Linked DNA regions of Homo sapiens: all the other regions are linked to region 3. The links are contacts of gene promoters, found by promoter capture Hi-C in blood cells and fetal thymus (Javierre and others, 2016). All regions are on one chromosome and are shown on one strand. Each heading gives the region's core, a stretch centred on a gene start or on the middle of the fragment in contact. The rest is flanking DNA. Distances are from core to core; before and after follow the strand shown.

What was found. Contacts are between HindIII fragments. The CHiCAGO score rates a contact against its expected background, and 5 or more counts as called.
Region 1: a fragment that was not itself captured here is called in contact with the fragment with the promoter of SLC36A4 in region 3 in 8 of 17 cell types (naive B cells, naive CD4 T cells, naive CD8 T cells and 5 more); the score reaches 13.9 in naive B cells.
Region 2: a fragment that was not itself captured here is called in contact with the fragment with the promoter of SLC36A4 in region 3 in 3 of 17 cell types (total CD8 T cells, total B cells and non-activated CD4 T cells); the score reaches 6.3 in total CD8 T cells.
Region 4: a fragment that was not itself captured here is called in contact with the fragment with the promoter of SLC36A4 in region 3 in 1 of 17 cell types (fetal thymus); the score reaches 5.1 in fetal thymus.

What each region holds. Positions count from the first base shown.
Region 1 is chr11:90,210,362-90,214,769 of GRCh38, forward strand. CHORDC1 (cysteine and histidine rich domain containing 1) reads right to left here. Exons shown (of 11, transcript NM_012124.3): 4 at 3,657-3,814; 5 at 854-957; 6 at 175-233. Among named protein-coding and RNA genes, the nearest start is that of CHORDC1, 10 kb to the right of the region's middle. The HindIII fragment of the contact is 2,505 bases long and covers 1,035-3,539 here.
Region 2 is chr11:90,225,819-90,229,990 of GRCh38, forward strand. All of the region lies in intron 1 of LOC124902812 (a long non-coding RNA gene), which reads left to right. Among named protein-coding and RNA genes, the nearest start is that of CHORDC1, 4.9 kb to the left of the region's middle. RefSeq lists an enhancer at 2,222-2,728. The HindIII fragment of the contact is 631 bases long and covers 2,578-3,208 here.
Region 3 is chr11:93,196,042-93,200,250 of GRCh38, forward strand. SLC36A4 (solute carrier family 36 member 4) reads right to left here and starts at 1,950. Exons shown (of 11, transcript NM_152313.4): 1 at 1,737-1,950. The coding sequence starts at 1,791. RefSeq lists a silencer at 1,712-2,091. The HindIII fragment of the contact is 1,801 bases long and covers 767-2,567 here.
Region 4 is chr11:95,789,927-95,794,438 of GRCh38, forward strand. CEP57 (centrosomal protein 57) reads left to right here and starts at 572. Exons shown (of 11, transcript NM_014679.5): 1 at 572-817. The coding sequence starts at 773. RefSeq lists enhancers at 384-853, 817-1,480. The HindIII fragment of the contact is 581 bases long and covers 961-1,541 here.

The DNA of each region.
Region 1 (4,408 bases), core at 1,037-3,536, 3.0 Mb before region 3:
TACTGGACATGATGCTACTCAGAGTCTCTTATCCATGATTGTAGCCCTAGTCCCCAGCATAATGTTCAATATATAATATGCATGCAAATGTTTGTTGAATTGAGTCAGCAAACTGCACTTTCCTCAAAATTAAAATTTTACTTCATAACACATCACAAATCTTGTGATATATACCTTTGAACACCCTCCATTCTTACATGAGGTCCCAATCTTAATTTCATCATTGTCTTCTTCTGTAACAAAGAAAAAAAAATCAAATTAAAAAGTTAAAATAGAACTTCGCTGTGGCATCATTCTTAAAAACTAGGTTTTTCCAGAAAACAATACTTTTTAGAAAACGACTGTGACTAGGATTTGCTTATATCCCCAAATTGATATATGACACATTTCTTCTTCTTTTGAGGACCTGGTGTCTTCAACAATGCAGGACACAATTTTTTCCATAACAAAATGTTATATCCAGTATCTTAACTTTGTAAAATAAATCATGAAAGGGTGTTTTCCTCCCATGGTACCAGGTATAAAGTCAGAGAATAGTGAATATATTTTGTATAATGTACAAGAAAACATTTTAAAATATCAAAGAAATTTAGCTGATTCTTAAAAAAATAATGAACCATAAAAGAAAAAAAATTTAATATAGGTTCTCGTTTTGAATAAAGACATATGGAATTAACCTATTAGGTTCTGAAGTATTTGTAGTTTATCATATCTGACATTTAGAAGAAAAAGTTTCTTAACTACAATGTGCGACTTTTCCCTATTTATATGCAGTAAACTACTATTCTCTCTTTTGGATAACTGCTTAACTGTACCAGAAAATAATTAACAATAAAACAAAATAAAATCTTACCTTTCTTATTTTCTTCATTCCCTGATGACAGTTTAAGTTTATCAAGTGCTTGTTTTAGGGAGGCAGATATTTTTAATTCCAAATTTGTCATTGGTTCATCTGGGCTGGAGAATTTTGAAACCTTATTACCATTATTAATATACCAAAATATTTCTTTGTACTCCAAATTAATAACCTTAAAAGCTTTCTGAGAAGCCAAATGCTTTGTGTATCAAATGATTCCCATTAAAAGGTTAAAAGGTATTTTATAAATAATTGTTACAATGTATCTACATTCTGTCTTAACAGAAAAGCTCCTTATATTAGAATAGTAAGTCTCAAATAATCACGCTATTGTCAGCATATTTAAGTATTAATCAGTTGCACTAACGAGAAAGGAATAAAGACTAGGAATCCAAGGTTTTCAAGATGAGTAATGCTGAGGAAGGGACCATAATGTACTTTTACATCCCATGCCCAAGCTCAATGCTGAGCACATAATAAACATGAAATATAAGTAAGTTCTAAGTGAATCCATACTCACTTCTACCAGTGGAGATAATTTATGTGGACACTGGCATATGGATCTGTAAATTCAGATACGATCGTATTGCAAGGCAATTTCAGTAGGGTTTAAAAAACAACATCTTCTAACATTTCATAATGGCTAAGTGTTGTATACATAATTTAAGTCCACTCAATAAATAAGTATTAAACATATTAATAAACACAGCAATAAAAATAAAAATCGTAGGCTATTCATTCTATATCCTCGATGAAAAAACTGACAAAAGAGGCATTTTAAAAGTACATAGGCAAGGCATGGTCGCTTATGCCCATAATCCCAACACTTTGGGAGGCTGAGGCAAGAGGACTGCTTGAAGCCTGGGCAACAAAGTGGAACCCTGTCTCCGCAAAATAATAAAAAATATTAGTCGGTCACTGATATGGTTTCCCTGTGTCACCAACCAAATCTCATCTTGAATTCTAGCTCCCCTAATCTCCACATGGTGTGTGACAGACCTAGTGGGAGGTAACTGGATCATGGGGATGCCTTTTTCCCATGCTGTTCTCATGATAGTGAATAAGTCTCAGAAGTTCTGATGGTTTTTTTCTTGCCTGCCACCATGTAAAACATTCCTTTATTACTCGCTCTACCTTCTGCCATGATTGTGAGGCCTCCCCAGCCATATGGAACTGTGAGTTCATTAAACCTCTTTTTCTTTATAAATCACTTAGTCTCGGGTGTTTCTTCGTAACTGTGAAAATGGACTAATACAGTCATAGTAGCATACACCTATAGTTCCGGGGAGGGTTAGGGAGGAGGATGGCTTGAGCCCAGGAGTTAAAGGCTGCAGTGAGCTATAATGCCACTGCATTACAGCCTGGGTAAGAGAGGGACTTTTCTTCTTAAAAAAAAGAAAAGTATGTAAAAACTGATATCCTCATAATTGTTATAATACCACCAAATGAATTTAGGATAAAATATTTAGTTTTTCTCATCTCACTGCCTTTGTCCTTTTTTTTCAAAAAGTCAATCTCAAGATCCTCCTGCCTCAGCCTGAGTAGCTGCAACTACATGAGCACACCACCAAACCCAGCTAATTTATTTTTTTTGGAGAGACAGGATCTCTTTCAGATTGGTTCTCAAACTCCTAGGCTCAAAGGATCCTCCCTCCTAGGCTTCTCAAAGTGCTGGATTATGGGCTTGAGCCACAGTGCCTGGCCTCTCACTGCCCTTTAAGTAAAATAACAGCCCATCATTTAAAGAAAAAATTAACTCATACTATTATAGTACAGACTGTATTATATTACTAAAGAGATTAAGAATGAGCCATGACTGAAGTTTTGTCTTTTCCCAATTATTTTTCTAACTGCTAAACTGGCCAAAGCATTCAATGGTCTCCTCTAACTATGAAGATGGAGAGAGAATAAAATCATCCTGAGTAGTTTCCTTAGCAATAATCTGTACTCAGAGTGCTAATGAACAAATAAACATCTAAAGTCTCTTAGGGTTCTTATCTTGGTTCTATATTATTCAATACTCTATAAATTTATTTAAGTAGGATCAAAGGAGAATAAAGGGAAAATCATGAGTTCATAGCATGAATAAAAATTACAATAAGTGCCTACTTGCAGCCAAAAAAAAAAAAAAAAATCACCTTTTTTTAAGTCCTGTAGTTTGCTTCTAAAACAATTTAGTACTCAAGTGTAGCACGAAGAAGACCTGGTTCAACAAAGGTACTCAATATACATGTGTGGGAATACAGAGTCTGGTTATCAGAAGGCAAGTATGAAGAATCTGTACAACTCTATTGCACAATGAGCAAACGCTTTTTTAAGACTACTTTCACAAATATGTCATCTAAATCAAATGCATTAAAAATTGACCAGTAGTAATGAGATTAACGGTAGTTTTCAGGCATCTGAAAGTAAAGATGGATGATTAGGCCTCTGCATTATTTTCTACTTCAAACTCATGCCATGAAAAGGAAAACTGCTTCAAAGAATTTTACCATGCCACAGTGAAAAAGATGCACTCTAAGGCACAAGAAAAATGTGACTTCCCTACCCTGATGATACATGTCCCTGTAATTATGACAGTACAATATGCAAATCTGTTATGTAGTTATATTGTGTACATGCTCTCAAGTTGAAGAGAAATAAAAATTTAAGGCAGATTTAAGGGAGAAACCAAATGGTTCAAAGCTTGGTGGCCTACATAGTAGCTACAAATGGTATCATGCTAAATCATAAAGGAAAGTACCATGCACAAGTGCTACTATTCAAGTGTGACAAAAATATGTAACTGTATAAAGTATACCTTGGTCTTTTTATTGCTTCTACTGGCTTAGGGGCTTGAATGATGTGTTCCTGAAATTTGGGTTTTAATTCACATAGCTCCTTCTTCTCAGTAGTCTTGACTTCAGGTTTGACTGGCTCAGGTGGCTTCTCACTATTATGTCTACCTTTTGTACAGCCCTGTTAGTGAAAGATAATTCATTAAGAGCTATCTATTTTACATTTCATGATAGAAATATTATCTTTTCAGTTCTTTATTGATAGTGATTCTATTTCATGTTTTCTCCAGTTTCAATACATTGATTTTAAGAAATTAAAAACAGAACTCCAAATTTGCCATATTTGCTGAATCTCTGAATGACGGCTTTTTTAAAAAGTCTTTGAATTACACTTCATAAACATCTACTTATTCTATTAAAAATATGGCATAAACCTCTTGTTTACAGAAGAATTCTGGAGAATCTCACAAAGAACTGTAAAAAATAGTTATACAGAAAAATCTGTTACTCGAAAGGCCTCAATTTGAGACCTAGTTCTCAACATACTTATTAGTTATATGACCTTAAGCAAGATAATCTTTTTAAACCTCCATCTCCTCATTTGTAAAATGGAGGTAATGTCAGGTAAGATATTTTCTGAGAGAGTTAAATAATAAAATGCCTGGCACATTTGGCAGGTGATAACATTCAACAAACGTTAGCTACTTTTCTACTACATTCTACTGAATTATACATACTCTTTAACACCTCTGAAATGATACAATCAATAGCATTA
Region 2 (4,172 bases), core at 1,643-4,142, 3.0 Mb before region 3:
ACTTTATTCGAAAGATGAAAATTTCATCCATTATGATTGTGTGTTGAGCAGTTTGTGGTTTCTGTATTTTGAACATATATTATTCATCCTATAAAGGTGCATGTCTTTCGTATTTACATAGTTTATGTTTTTAATATAAAATGACCTTCTTTGTATCATTTTGTATTTTTGTCTTGAAACCTACTTTGATATTAATGCTTCAACTTTTGCTATGTTTCTCTTTGTTTTTGCCTAATAAACCTCACCCTATCCATTTATATTTAACCTGTGTCATCTTGTTTTGGGCATATCTGCTGTAAGCAGCAGATAGATTGCATCTTGTTTTTCTTTTTTTAACTCAAATCCGAGAATCTTTTTATTTTGCAGAGAAGCTTAACCTTTTTATTTCTGATTAATGCTTGAAAGTTCAGGTGCCAAAGTGGCCCAGAACTTATTAATGGTTTTATAAGTCAATTAACGTCAATAAGCCTGAGTTTTCTTATCTGTAAAACATTGATAACAGAGTGCTGTGAAGATTAAGTTAAACAATGCATGTAAAACATATAGTCTAGTGTAAGCACTGAATGATAATTTCACAAAAGTTTAGCAATGAAAATGGTCAACTTAGATGTTTAGTCCTATTTGGTTATTTCACTTTTGTTTTCCCTTTTATATGCAGTTGTGTCTGCTTCCTTGCTTTTATTTTATTCTATTTTCTAAATAAAGTATGTGCTTGCTTTTTTATTTTGTCCACGATTTAAAAAAAAAATATATATATAGGTTTTAATTTATTTCAGCATGTATTAAGTAGTTAATGTGTGTTGGTACATTAGATGCAGGATACAGTGGTGAACTGAAGTGACATTTTACCTGTCTTCGTTGTATTTGAATTTTATAAGAAAGACGGATGTGAATCAAATATTCCCAATTATGAATTCAATCACTGATAATTGCCATAAATGCTATGAATGGGAAGTACGTTATGCTAAGTTAGTGGAGATGGGAATTTGCCTAATCTTGAGTTGGAGTGCAGGCATAGGTGTTAGTCTAAACAGAAGTCCTGCAATGGAAGGTAGTATAACATTAAAGAAAGCACAGAATCATCGAGGTAAACCAATGCTCAGAAATAAGGGATACCAGATGTATTAGGACATTCTTGCATTGCTATGAAGAAATACCCAAGACTGGATAATTTATAAGAAAAGAGGGTTTAATTGGCTCACATTTCTGCAGGCTATACAGGAAGGGCTCAGGAAGCTTTAACTCATGGCAGAAGGCAAAATGAGAGCTTGTACTTCACATGGTAAATGCAGGAGCAAGTGGTGGGGGAGGTGCCACACACTTTTAAATGATCAGATCTCATGTGAACTCAACTGGAGAACTCACTCATCACCCAGGGGATGGCCCAAGCCATTCATGAGAGATGCGCCCCCATGACCCAAATACCTCCCACCAGGCCCCATCTCCAAGATTGGGGATTACATTTCAACATGAGATTTGGGCAGGGAAAACTATCCAAACTATATAATTCTTCTCCTGGCCCCTCCCAAATCTCATGTCCTCACATTGCAAAATAGAATCATACTTTCTCAGCAATCCCCTAAAATCTTGACCTTTGCCAGATTTAACTCAAAAGTCCAAAGTTTCATCTGAGACAAGACAAATCCCTTCCACCTATGAGCCTGTAAAATAAACAAGTTAGTTACTTCCAAGATACAATAGGTATGTATAGGCATTGGGTAAACATTCCCATTCCAAAAGGGAGAAATTGGCTAAAAGAAAGGGGCTATAGGCTCCATGCAAGGCAAAACCCAAGCAGGCCGTCATTAAATCTTAAAGCTCCAATGTAATCCCCTTTGACTCTATGTTCCACATCCAGGGCACACTGGTGCAAGGAGAGGGCTCCCAAGGCCTTGGGCAGCCCTACCCCTATACCTTTGCAGAGTACAACTCCCCCAACTGCTCTCATGGGCTGGGATTGAGTGCCTGTGGATTTTCCAGGTACAGAGTACAAGCTGCTAATAGATCTACCATTCTCAGGTCTGAAGGATGGTGGCCCTCTTCTCACAGTTCTACTAGCCAGTGCTCATTAGAGACTTTGTGTGGAGGCTCCAGCCCCATATTTTCCCCTCCACATTGCCCTAGTAGAAGTTGTCTGTGAGGGTTCTGCCCCTGCAGCAGGCTTCTGCCTATACATCCAGGCTTTTTCATGCATCCTCTGAAACCCTCACAGAAGCTTCCAAACCTCAGCTCTGGCACTCTGTACATCCACAGGCTTAACATCTCATGTAAGCCATGTAAGCTTATGGCTTGCATCCTTCAAAGTGGCAGCCCGAGCTGTACCTGGACCCTGTTGAGCCATAGCTGGAACTGGAGTGGCTGGGATGTGGGGAGAGTAGTTTGCCAAGGGCTCGGCCCATGAAACCATTCTTCCCTCCTAAGGCCTCTGATGGGAGGGGCTGCCATGAAGTTCGCTGAAATGACTTCAAGTTGTTTTCCCCATTGTCTTGAATAGTAGCACTTGGCTCCCTTTTAGTTATGCCAATGTATCTAGCAGGTGGTTGCTCCACAGCCTGCTTGAATTCCTCTCTACAAAAAAGCTTTTTCTTTCTCTGCCATATGGCTAGGCTGCAAAATTTCCAAACTTTTATGCTCTGTTTCCTGTTTAAATATAAATTTCTACTTTAAGCCATTTCCTTGCTTCTGTATCTAAGCAAAGGTTGTTAGAAACAGCCAGGCCACATCTTGGGCACTTTGCTGCTTAGAAATTTCTTCTGTTAAATACCCTAGGTTATCACTCTCAAGTTCAGATTTCCTCAGATACCCAGGGCATGAACAGAATGCAGCCAAACTCTTTCCTATGGCATAACATGTGTGACCTTTGCTCCAGTTCCCAATAAGTTCCTCGTTTTCATCTCAGATCTAGTCAGCCTGGATTTCATTTTCCATATCACTATCAGCATTTTGGTCACAATCATTTAAGCAGTCTCTAAGAAGTTGCACACTTACTCTCATCTTCCTGTCTTCTCTAGAAAGACATACTCCACGTGATCCTAACCTCTGGCCATTATCCAATTTCCAAGCTGTTTCTACATTTTCAGGTATCTTTATAGTAATACTCCACTCTGAGTACTAATTTTCTGTATTAGGTCATTTTTGCATTACTATAAAGAAATGCCTGAGACTAGGTAATTTATAAGAAAAGATTTAATTTGCTTATGGTTCTGCAAGCTTTACAGGAAGCGTAATTTCTGGTGAGGCTTCAGGAAGTTTTACTCATGGTAGAAGGCAAAGCAGGAGCTTGCACTTCACATGGCAAAAGCAGGGAAAGAGAGAGAGAGTTGGGGAGGGGAGGTTCCACAGACTTTTAAATGACCACCAGATCTCAGAGCAAGAGCTCACCTATCACCAAGGGAATGGCCCAAGCCATTCATGAAGGATGGACTCCCATAATCCAAACACCTCCCACCAGGCCTCACCTTCAAGACTGGGGATTATATTTCAACATGAGATTTGGATGGGGGCGAATATCTAAACTATAACACCATCTGAGGCTGGAAAGGTAGACAGAGGCCCAACAACACAGGCAGCCTGAGAGGCAGCTGTAAGGATGATTAAAAGGCTTTTATCCTTAGGGCAAAGAGGAATAATTGAAAGGAGTTTTCCATTAATGTGATTTTTCCAGAAATCTCAAAATTAACTGAAGGCATGCAATAATCCAAAGAGCCCTTATTCAACAAAAGTGCTAAATATTGGTAAGAACAACAAATTGTGTGACATTTTAATTTCCCTATTTCCATTCTCTTCTTTATACCTAAATGGTAGGTATAAAATCCAGCAGCCTCTCAACAATAGGTATGTAAAGTGGAATTCTAGAAGCTACAAGAGGAGGCAGAATGGCATTGTCTAAGCATTGACCCATCTGACAGCTCCTTGGAAAAGCTCAATTTTTAAGGCTTGTGATCGTTTTGACTTACTGAAAGCTTGTTGATTGGGAAAAATCTTGTTTCTAGGACATTTGCTGAAAACAATCAAAAGTGATTGTTTAACATGGCAGCTGCCTGAGGAGACTATACGAGTTGAGGCCAATAAGAAGCTGGCCAATAAAAATGTAAATGGAAGAGTTTATGAGTGAGATAACACCAGAATCTTTGAACAACACTGACATATTCCTAAGGAATGTGAAGAAAGCC
Region 3 (4,209 bases), core at 700-3,199:
CTGTTTTGCTCACGATGTATCTCAAGTGCCTAGGGGAAGCTCAATGAATATGTGTTGAATTAATGAAAATATAAAACTTAAAAAAACTGAAATAATTTGAAACTTTTTTTCAGTTAAAGAAAATGTACATGCTGAACATCTTTCCACATCACTTTTAATGGTAGGCAATGTAAAACTATACCACAATTTAACCAATTTCCTTTCATTGTACTTTAGTTAACAGCTTTTCTCTATATACTATAATGAAAACCTCTTGATATAAGTATGGGTTACATTACTTATTTCCTCGGGAAATATTCTGAAGGAGAATTGCTGGGTCAAACGATAAGCACTTTTTTTTTTTGAGACAGAGTCTCGCTCTGTTGCCCAGGCTGGAGTGCAGTGGCACGATCTCGGCTCACGGCAAGCTCCGCCTCCCGGGTTCACGCCATTCTCCTGCCTCAGCCACCCGAGTAGCTGGGACTACAGGCGCCCGCCACCACGCCCGGCTAATTTTTTGTGTTTTTAGTAGAGACGGGGTTTCACCGTGTTAGCCAGGATGGTCTCCATCTCCTGACCTTGTGATGATCCGGCCGCCTCAGCCTCCCAAAGTGCTGGGATTACAGGCGTGAGCCACCGCGCCAGGCCGATATGTACATTTTTAAGGCTAAATATATTATCCCTTTCCTGCCAGCAATGCATGAGAATACCCATTTCTCCATATCCTCACTAAGACAGGTTATTAATGAATGAAACCTGAGTTCACATTTGGGTTCTGCCATTAATAAGCTTAAAATTACTGTATCTATAAAATGGAAATCATGATAGCACCTATCTCAGTTGCTGTGAGGATTAAAGACAATGCATAGGTAAAGCACTTAGCACAGTGTTTGCACACAGTAAGCACGCAATAAAATGTTAAGTTTATTGTTTCTACCATTATTACGGCCTGAAAACAATTCCATTGCAAAGTGCCCTGCAGGCTATTAGAGGAATAACAACAACCTATCAGTTACTTATAATACGGTATTTTTTAAAGTTCAACGGTTTTCTTGAAGATTCCATTTAGATTTAATTTTTTAATTACATTTAATCAGCATCGAATGAAAAATACTCCCAAGTACAGTACGTATAACTGGGAGAGCGATCATTTTACCACCCTGATCCTTACTTTTTTATTTTGGACAGCGGGAAACCGTAAACAAACACGCCCTGTCGCCAAGAAACAAGATGGGAGGAAAGCAGCAAAAAACAAACAAACTTTGCCAAGTGAGCAAGCTACAGGTATCTCCTGTTCATTCTGGTCAGCACGACCTGTTCGAAACTCTGGGATAACAAGGAGTAAAATGAGGATTCATCTGGAGATTCCGAATGGGGCTGCAGCATTTGAAAAGCAGAACAATGATAACTTCCTTAAAGCATCATTGGGAAAAAAACCGTGAGTCACGGCGCAGGCTCTTGCGTCTTTGACGTGTACCCACAGGGCCCCGCCCCACTCAACACACACACTCACCCACACGCGCGCGCGCAAACACACACACACATATTTTAACGCCCTATTCAGGCCTGGGCTTCGTCTGACCAAGTTCTCGGGGTCAGATAACCGGTTCCTTTGCGGATGCTGACCACGGGGTCAGTTAGCAATCGGGCCTCAACTCAGGCCAAGCGCGGGGCCCCTGGAGGTGTGGGCGCACCCGACTCCCGCACAGACCCCCGCCCACGTCAGCCCCGGCTCCCTGCCCACGCACAACACCGACCTAGCTCCTCGCGCCTCGCCGCCCCGGCAGCCGCCGGCGTCGCCGCCGCTTCCATCTCTCGCGGGTCTCCAGGACGCCGCCGCCCGAGTGCTCACTCTCCCGCCGCTGCGTGGCCGGCGTCAGGCCCAGGCCTACCTCCCCTGCCCGGAGGGACCCGCGCCTGGTGCCCGCCTCCCTGCCCCGGCGCTCCCCAACCGCGCGGCGAGGAGCATGCGCAGTGGGACAGCCCGGCTCGGCGGGCACCGCCGGCGAGGGGCGGGAGGGGCCGAAGACCCGAGGACTGCTGCGAGGCCGGGTTGGGTAACCCGAGAGGAGGGTTGGGTAACCTGAGATCAGCGAGGGTGGGACCTTAGAGCTAGCCGAGACCCGGGCCCATAGCTCCCTGGGGGTTTTAAAGATGACGGCGAACTTAAATTTGGGGCGCCTGTCCGTATGCAAGGCGTTAGCGTTCTGTAAGTCACCTTGGAGAATGCGAAGAAGGACGGGATTTGTCCCCTACCCATGCTGAGGTTCTGACTACTCTGGTTATTCGTCTCCCTGTTTCTATAGTTAGAGTTACAGGAGACACTTAAATAGAATTTAATTAAGTCATATACAATTTCACTTTCAGGATATTTCAATGTCCTTCCAGATATTTGACGTTGACCGTGGTGCTGAAAGAAAATTAAGGTAAAGACTAAGTGTACTGATGTAGTTTCAAGTACTCCTAAGCACCATACATACATTATCTTTAATTCTGACTACAATTTGTGAGATAATTCTAATATTTACATTAACGCTAAAGATGAAGGGATTAAGGCACGGAGGTAAGTAACGTGTCTGGGGACAGGAAGCTTGTACATGGCAGAAGTAGAATCCTTCTGCCTTCAGAGCTGGAGCTCTCGAAAAATATGCAAAGCTGGCCTCCCAGATGGGTACCAATGAATATTCGATGAATCAATGGATGAAGCAAGCTTTTGGTTTAAAAGGAAAATATTTATTTTAATTTTAAAATCGCTTTCTTTTTTTTTTCACTTCATAGTTCTTGGAAGTCAGTACACCAGACAATCCTTTTTATTTGTGTCCGTTTCATTCAGTGGGGTTGCTTTAGGAAAGGGTTTTTTTGGGGGGGAGTGGGTCTGATTAACAGTCACTGATGTAACTATATGGCAATGGTGTTAAATATTTAAAATTCTGAGATTAAAAAGGTACGCAGTTACATACTATCTACATCTTTCCTCCTGTTGCATCCTCTGTAGGCTTTCACTAGATAACTAGTGATAATGACAGTTTGCCAACCCCCTTTCTTTTCCTTTAAGTGAACCCAATTTGTTCACATACATACACATGCAAATCCCAAAAGAAGGTTTTATTTGAAGTGTTCCTGACAAATAAAGGGGTAAAGGAGATTTTTTTTAAAAAAGAAGAAGAAGAAGAAATCTATTCTGGAACATAGCTAGAGCAATGTTCCCTAACCTGTGTTGGGGTGGATCACCTGGTTAAAGATCAGCAGGAGAGAAGATAGGCATCAGACAGAAATTATAGGACCAAGGTAATTTTCCATAAACCACTCATTATAATGAGAACATGTGGGACAGCATCTTAAAAGAACATTATCCTTTGAGAGTTAAAAGGGATCAAAAGTCATTGTCCCCTAATCTCAGCTTCAGGGAAAGCAGATCTGGCAATATGGAAGGAAGAAAAGTTTGACTTGTAGTATAGGCCTGAAATCTTTTGAAGAGGGTTGGGCTGAGGTAGGAGGCCCAATGTCTTTACAGTGATGTGGAGATAAAGCAAGTGATAACAATGATCATAAGATTCAAGAGAAATATGTTTTTCATGCATCTCTACTTGAGAACATATTTACTAGGACTTCTACTCCAGGTCTTATAAATTAGAAGCAGATATAAAGTACAGCTGTATCAAAATAGAGACATTATACAGAATGTGACAATTTGAACCCTGGAAATTCATTTCTTTTCCTGACTTTAACTTCTTGCATCACATCTTAACTACTTCCTTCTTTGCAACTGCAGCACTTTGTTCGTATCTCTGTTACAACACTTCTCCACTTATAATTATTCCTCTTTCTGGGCTTTATACTATGCTGTATACTATTATGTGCAAGGCACTGTGCTAGGCCTGTTGAGGAATTAACTGTATTTGTCTTTGTCCAAACAGGCCTAGCACAGTGACTTACAAATACCAGTCACTCAATGAACAGTTGTTGAAAGTTACTGAATATAGCCTCATAGGTATATGAAAGGAAACATTTAGAAGTCTTTAATGTATTCAAGCACATTTTACGGAGCACCTTCCATATATCAGGAAGTATGCTAGATGCTGGGGCTAGAAGGGCAAATAATGTTGGTATGGTCCCTACTGTCATGGAGTTCATAGTATATAGCATGTGACAGAACAGAACAAAACAAAATACTAAATATGTCATTACAATTGTTGGTTAGGAAAATAACAGGGTACCACCACGGAACCT
Region 4 (4,512 bases), core at 1-2,500, 2.6 Mb after region 3:
TCTCAGCGCGCGAAATCCGCTTTGAACCTGCCCCGCCCAAAGGTCTGCGGTCGCGGCTATTTCTAACAGCCAGTCCCAGGTTTGGCTGAGAGCGCCCCAATCCAATTGAGCAAATGTTCGCGAAAGGCTCGTTCTCTGCCGCAACTTTTTTTCCCTTGCTTTCTATTGGACTAAATCGTTAAGTCCCTCCTAATCCTATTTGTTATTGGCCAAAAGGTAAATACTTCACCTGGAGAGGCGTCCCCGAGGCAAATTCACGCTCTCTCCGGCGTTTAATCCGAGGGAACTCGTGGAGTGCTTTAACTTCGCCTTCGCTTTTGTTTTATCTCCATTACTCCCTTCAGTTGCCACTGGCGACACCACTACTCGCCCACGCTTCTTACTGGAGGAGGCCCGACCCTCCGTAGAATCCCCGCAGAGCCGGCCTGTAACCCCGGCGTTGTCTGCCCCAGCGGGCCCCGTTACGCGCTACCTTGTGACGTCACCAGGGAAGAGGCGGATTCTCTCCTACTACAGAAAGACGTCTGCTGTTTTGATTGGCTAGGAAAGACGTCCGTTAGGACGTGTTGCCCTTTCTGTGTAAGCTGTGAGCGTAGGCGGCCCTGAGGGGGTGTGTTGCAGGGGTTTCCAAGCCCAGCACCAGCACCCTTGCCCTTTTCCATCAGGGGTTCAGCCTAGGGTCCCCGCTGGTGGGCGGCTCCCGAGTCTTGGAGAAGAGCACGAGAACCTAGACCGCCCCCGAAGTGCGGAGACCCCCTGGGCAGGCTGAAAGATGGCGGCGGCGTCTGTCTCTGCGGCTTCTGGTTCTCACTTGTCGGTAAGAAGCAGTTGGCGCGAGTGGGCCCCACGTCGGCCCTAAGCGCCTCTTTGAGTTTCCTCACGTTTCAGGGCGCTGTCAGTCCAGCTTCTGACGCAATTCTGGAGGTCGGCGGGAATGCCTAGATTGCCCCGCGCTCCCCAAGCTTCCATTCACTGTGGCTGTGTCGAAGCTGCACCCTCTGGCTCCCAGTGAAACTGGGCTGGCCGCCCCTGTTCCCCAGCCCTTATTCACCTTTTGGCGTAGCAACCAACCCCGGTTGCCTAACATTCCCAAGGGCCGGCTGGGATAACTGCCCACTCCCTGGCCTGCAAAAATGTAGCTCTTTTGGTCACGTGGGTTCAGCGGCCCCTCTAGGAAACTCGCCAGATCAGGTGAGGCGCGCCAGTGTGTTTAAGAGACGTTGCAGAATAGTAGTCCGCCGTCTCTCGAGCGCTTACTAGTCGTTGCTTATGCTGTTTCCTATCCCTGCAGTGCCTCCCACTCCCATCCACATTAACTTCGTTGTGTGATGCTCGTAGCCAGAACGCGCGCTTCCTGTCACCTAGAATTACTGGAACTTCAATGTGGAAATGCCCTTTTGGAGAGGCGACAGGGGGAATTGATTTTAAATATTGTTTTCGCCTCATCAAATGTCACCATCCAGTTTAGTTACTGGTATTCACTGGTATTTCTCAAATTGGAGTGTCGAATGCTTAGGTTTTTGAAAACCGCGGCATTGGAAAGCTTTGATAGGAAGTAAATGTTGGAGCTCTTATTTCTCCAGTTAGCAAATGTTCGATGCCTGGTATACTGTTAGGGTCCAAATGAACAGAATAGAAACCCTGCTTTGAAGGAGAAAAACACTGAAGAGAAACTACACGTAATTAGTGATTACTGCGCAGTATAGTTTAGGAAGTGCTACCGTAGTAGAATAATCTAGAGGGGAGTGATTAACAGTGCTTGGGTAGGCTAGAGAAGGTTTCCTAGAAGGGAAGATGGAGCTAGTTGCGTGTCGAAGGAATTGTGATTGCTTGTCCCAAGAGTAGAGAAAGGAGAAAAAGGCAGTGCGGGAATTTTGGAGTATGTGCTAGAACAGTAGGTGCTTTTAGGAAACTTGAGATAGTTCGGAATGAGAAGAAGTAATACGGAGGTAGAGCTGGATGAGGTGAATTGGAAACGTAGGTAAAAACGTGAAAAAAGAAGGATGGTGAGGGAAGGAACTAGAAGAGTATCAGGGTAAAGTTATTTTCTAGGATCTAGGGGGAAAGAGTTGGAAACGCTAAGAAAGCCTGGTCACCTTGGAGAAGTCAGTTTCAGCTTTTGGAGACTTGTTAGAATTTGTAATAATGGGACTAGAAGTATTACAGTGTTTCAGCCGAATGGGAATTAGAAGTTTGCAGAGAGGTCTGGGGAAGTTAAGGAGAAGTAAGGAAAGCAGCAATTTAAGGTTATTCAGGATTAGGTCAGTAAAAGAAAAAAGTAAAAAACTATTGGAAGTGTCAGCAGATGGATGAGATTTTATAGGAGATGTGATTAAACTTGGGAGAAGAGGGCTTTTCACGGCTCTCAAAAGTTAAGCACTTGGAGACCGAACAAGGAATACTCTTACAAATGTTGAATTGAGTCTGGGTGCGTGGCTCATGCCTGTAATACCAGCTACTAGTGAGGCTGAGGCGGGAGGATCACTGAGGCTGAAGTGAGGTATGATAGTGCCACTGCTCTCCAGCCTGGGCGACAGAGCGACCCTGTCTCCATAAAATAAAATATTAAATAAACGTTTAATTGAGCTGCACTATGCCAAGGACACCTAGGTGAGCATTGGCACTGGGATATAGTCAGCTGTTAATACTTATACGGTACCCTTGACAGAAATACCAAAGACTGTTCATTAGGAAAGCATATTTTTTTTGTGCTAAGCTCAGCTTTAATAGGATTCTAAATATCAAGGGTACACTAAGAATATCTAGGAACCTCCACAAATCAAAGTATAACAACCATAACTCAATCTGCTACATCAAAATGTCTATTTTGGAAGTTACTGTTTCTCAAAACAAAAATGACTAAATTTAGTTGGTTTCTTGGTGCGTAAGAAAACGTCCTGCTTAGATGTCCCATCAGAAATAAGGCTGCCATTTCCAACAGCGTTGGAAAAGCACTTAGCTTATCAAACAGCTGATCTTAACAGTAGGCAACATTTAAAAAAAAAAAAACTTGTTAAAACTATACCATGAACTGAGAACACAACTCGTATTCAGATTTCACGGTTATGAAGATTAACAACTGTTATATTCAACTGTTTTCGACATTGATAAACTCATACGGAGCTAGTTATAAGTACATTGAGATGCTTTACAGGCAAAGATTTTTAACAAGTAGATTCATAAATAACCGTCTTTGGGAAGCAGTGACCATGTAAATCTCAAATGTGAACAGCATGGAAGTAGGGCGATAGGTTTCAGTTAGGTTCTAGGTAACGTTTATTGAGTGATTGCTCTGGAATTGATAAACTTCGACTGGTGGAAAAGGCAGGAAAGCAACTATGATTGGGCATAATGAAATTAATTCCATATGGAGGTATGGGCAGCATTGTGTTGAAATACACAAGAATGTCTTTCATGTCAGCCTTGTAATATTTTCACAATAACCTTGGTGATTAATGACCTAATCTCTTGATTTGTCCCTCTGACTTTTGGTCCTTCGACCAAGCTGCACAGTAGCTCCATATTAATTTCCCTTAAAAATGTTTTATGGCTATCATACATTTTATAATATTAAATATAAGATTTACTTTTTGAGAATAATAAAATGAATACCTTCATGTTCCTCTGTGTCTTCTTTCTCCTTCCCACACCCACCCACTACCACGTATTTTAAGATTATAATGTATGGTATTTATATAGGACTACCTGGCAAGGCATAATCCTTAAAGACCCTTTTCATGCATTAACTCATTTAATCCTCACAATAACCTTCTGAGATTGGCATTAATATTTCCTTTTTCAAATGAGCAAAATGAGGCACAGAGAGGTTGAGTCAAAGTTCTCTAGCTAGTAAATGACAGTATCTTAATGGGCTTTGGATTTAATGGGTTTTGCTGTTCATTTGTTTGCCAGATATTAGAAACAATCTTGTATTCATTGTTATATGCTGTACATGGCAAATGTTTCTCTAGAGTGCAGTTCTCGAAGTATGGTCTCACAACCCTTGGAGATCTCCAAGACCCTCTCAGAGTCTACAAGATCCTTCTGTAATGACCACGTTTGTGGTAGACTAGATCTTTAATAAGTCAAACAAAATAACATATCCAACAGAGCGAATGCAGAACTAGATAAGAGAATCCAGCATTCTTTTTTTAAAGCAAACATTAAAGAGATCTGCAGAAATGTAAAATAGTGCCATTCTTTTCACTAGATCTTTTAGAGTGTAAAGGGGTCCTGAGAGAAAAAGTTTGCAAGGGGCAACTCTAGGGCAGTGATTTTTCTTTTTTTTTTCCAGACCAGAGGCTGGGCTCTGGATTACAGCTCAGTAGTGGGTCATGGAATATGTACTGTGACTCAACCCGTATCATTTTCAAGAAAGAAGAGAGAGAAAATCGTTCAGCAAATATAACTGAATGAATTATCTGGTTCACAGAGTATGTGCGTCTTCAGCTTTACTCGGTCATACTAAATTGTTTTACCAAGTGATTATACCAACAACCCTCTTTATTTTAT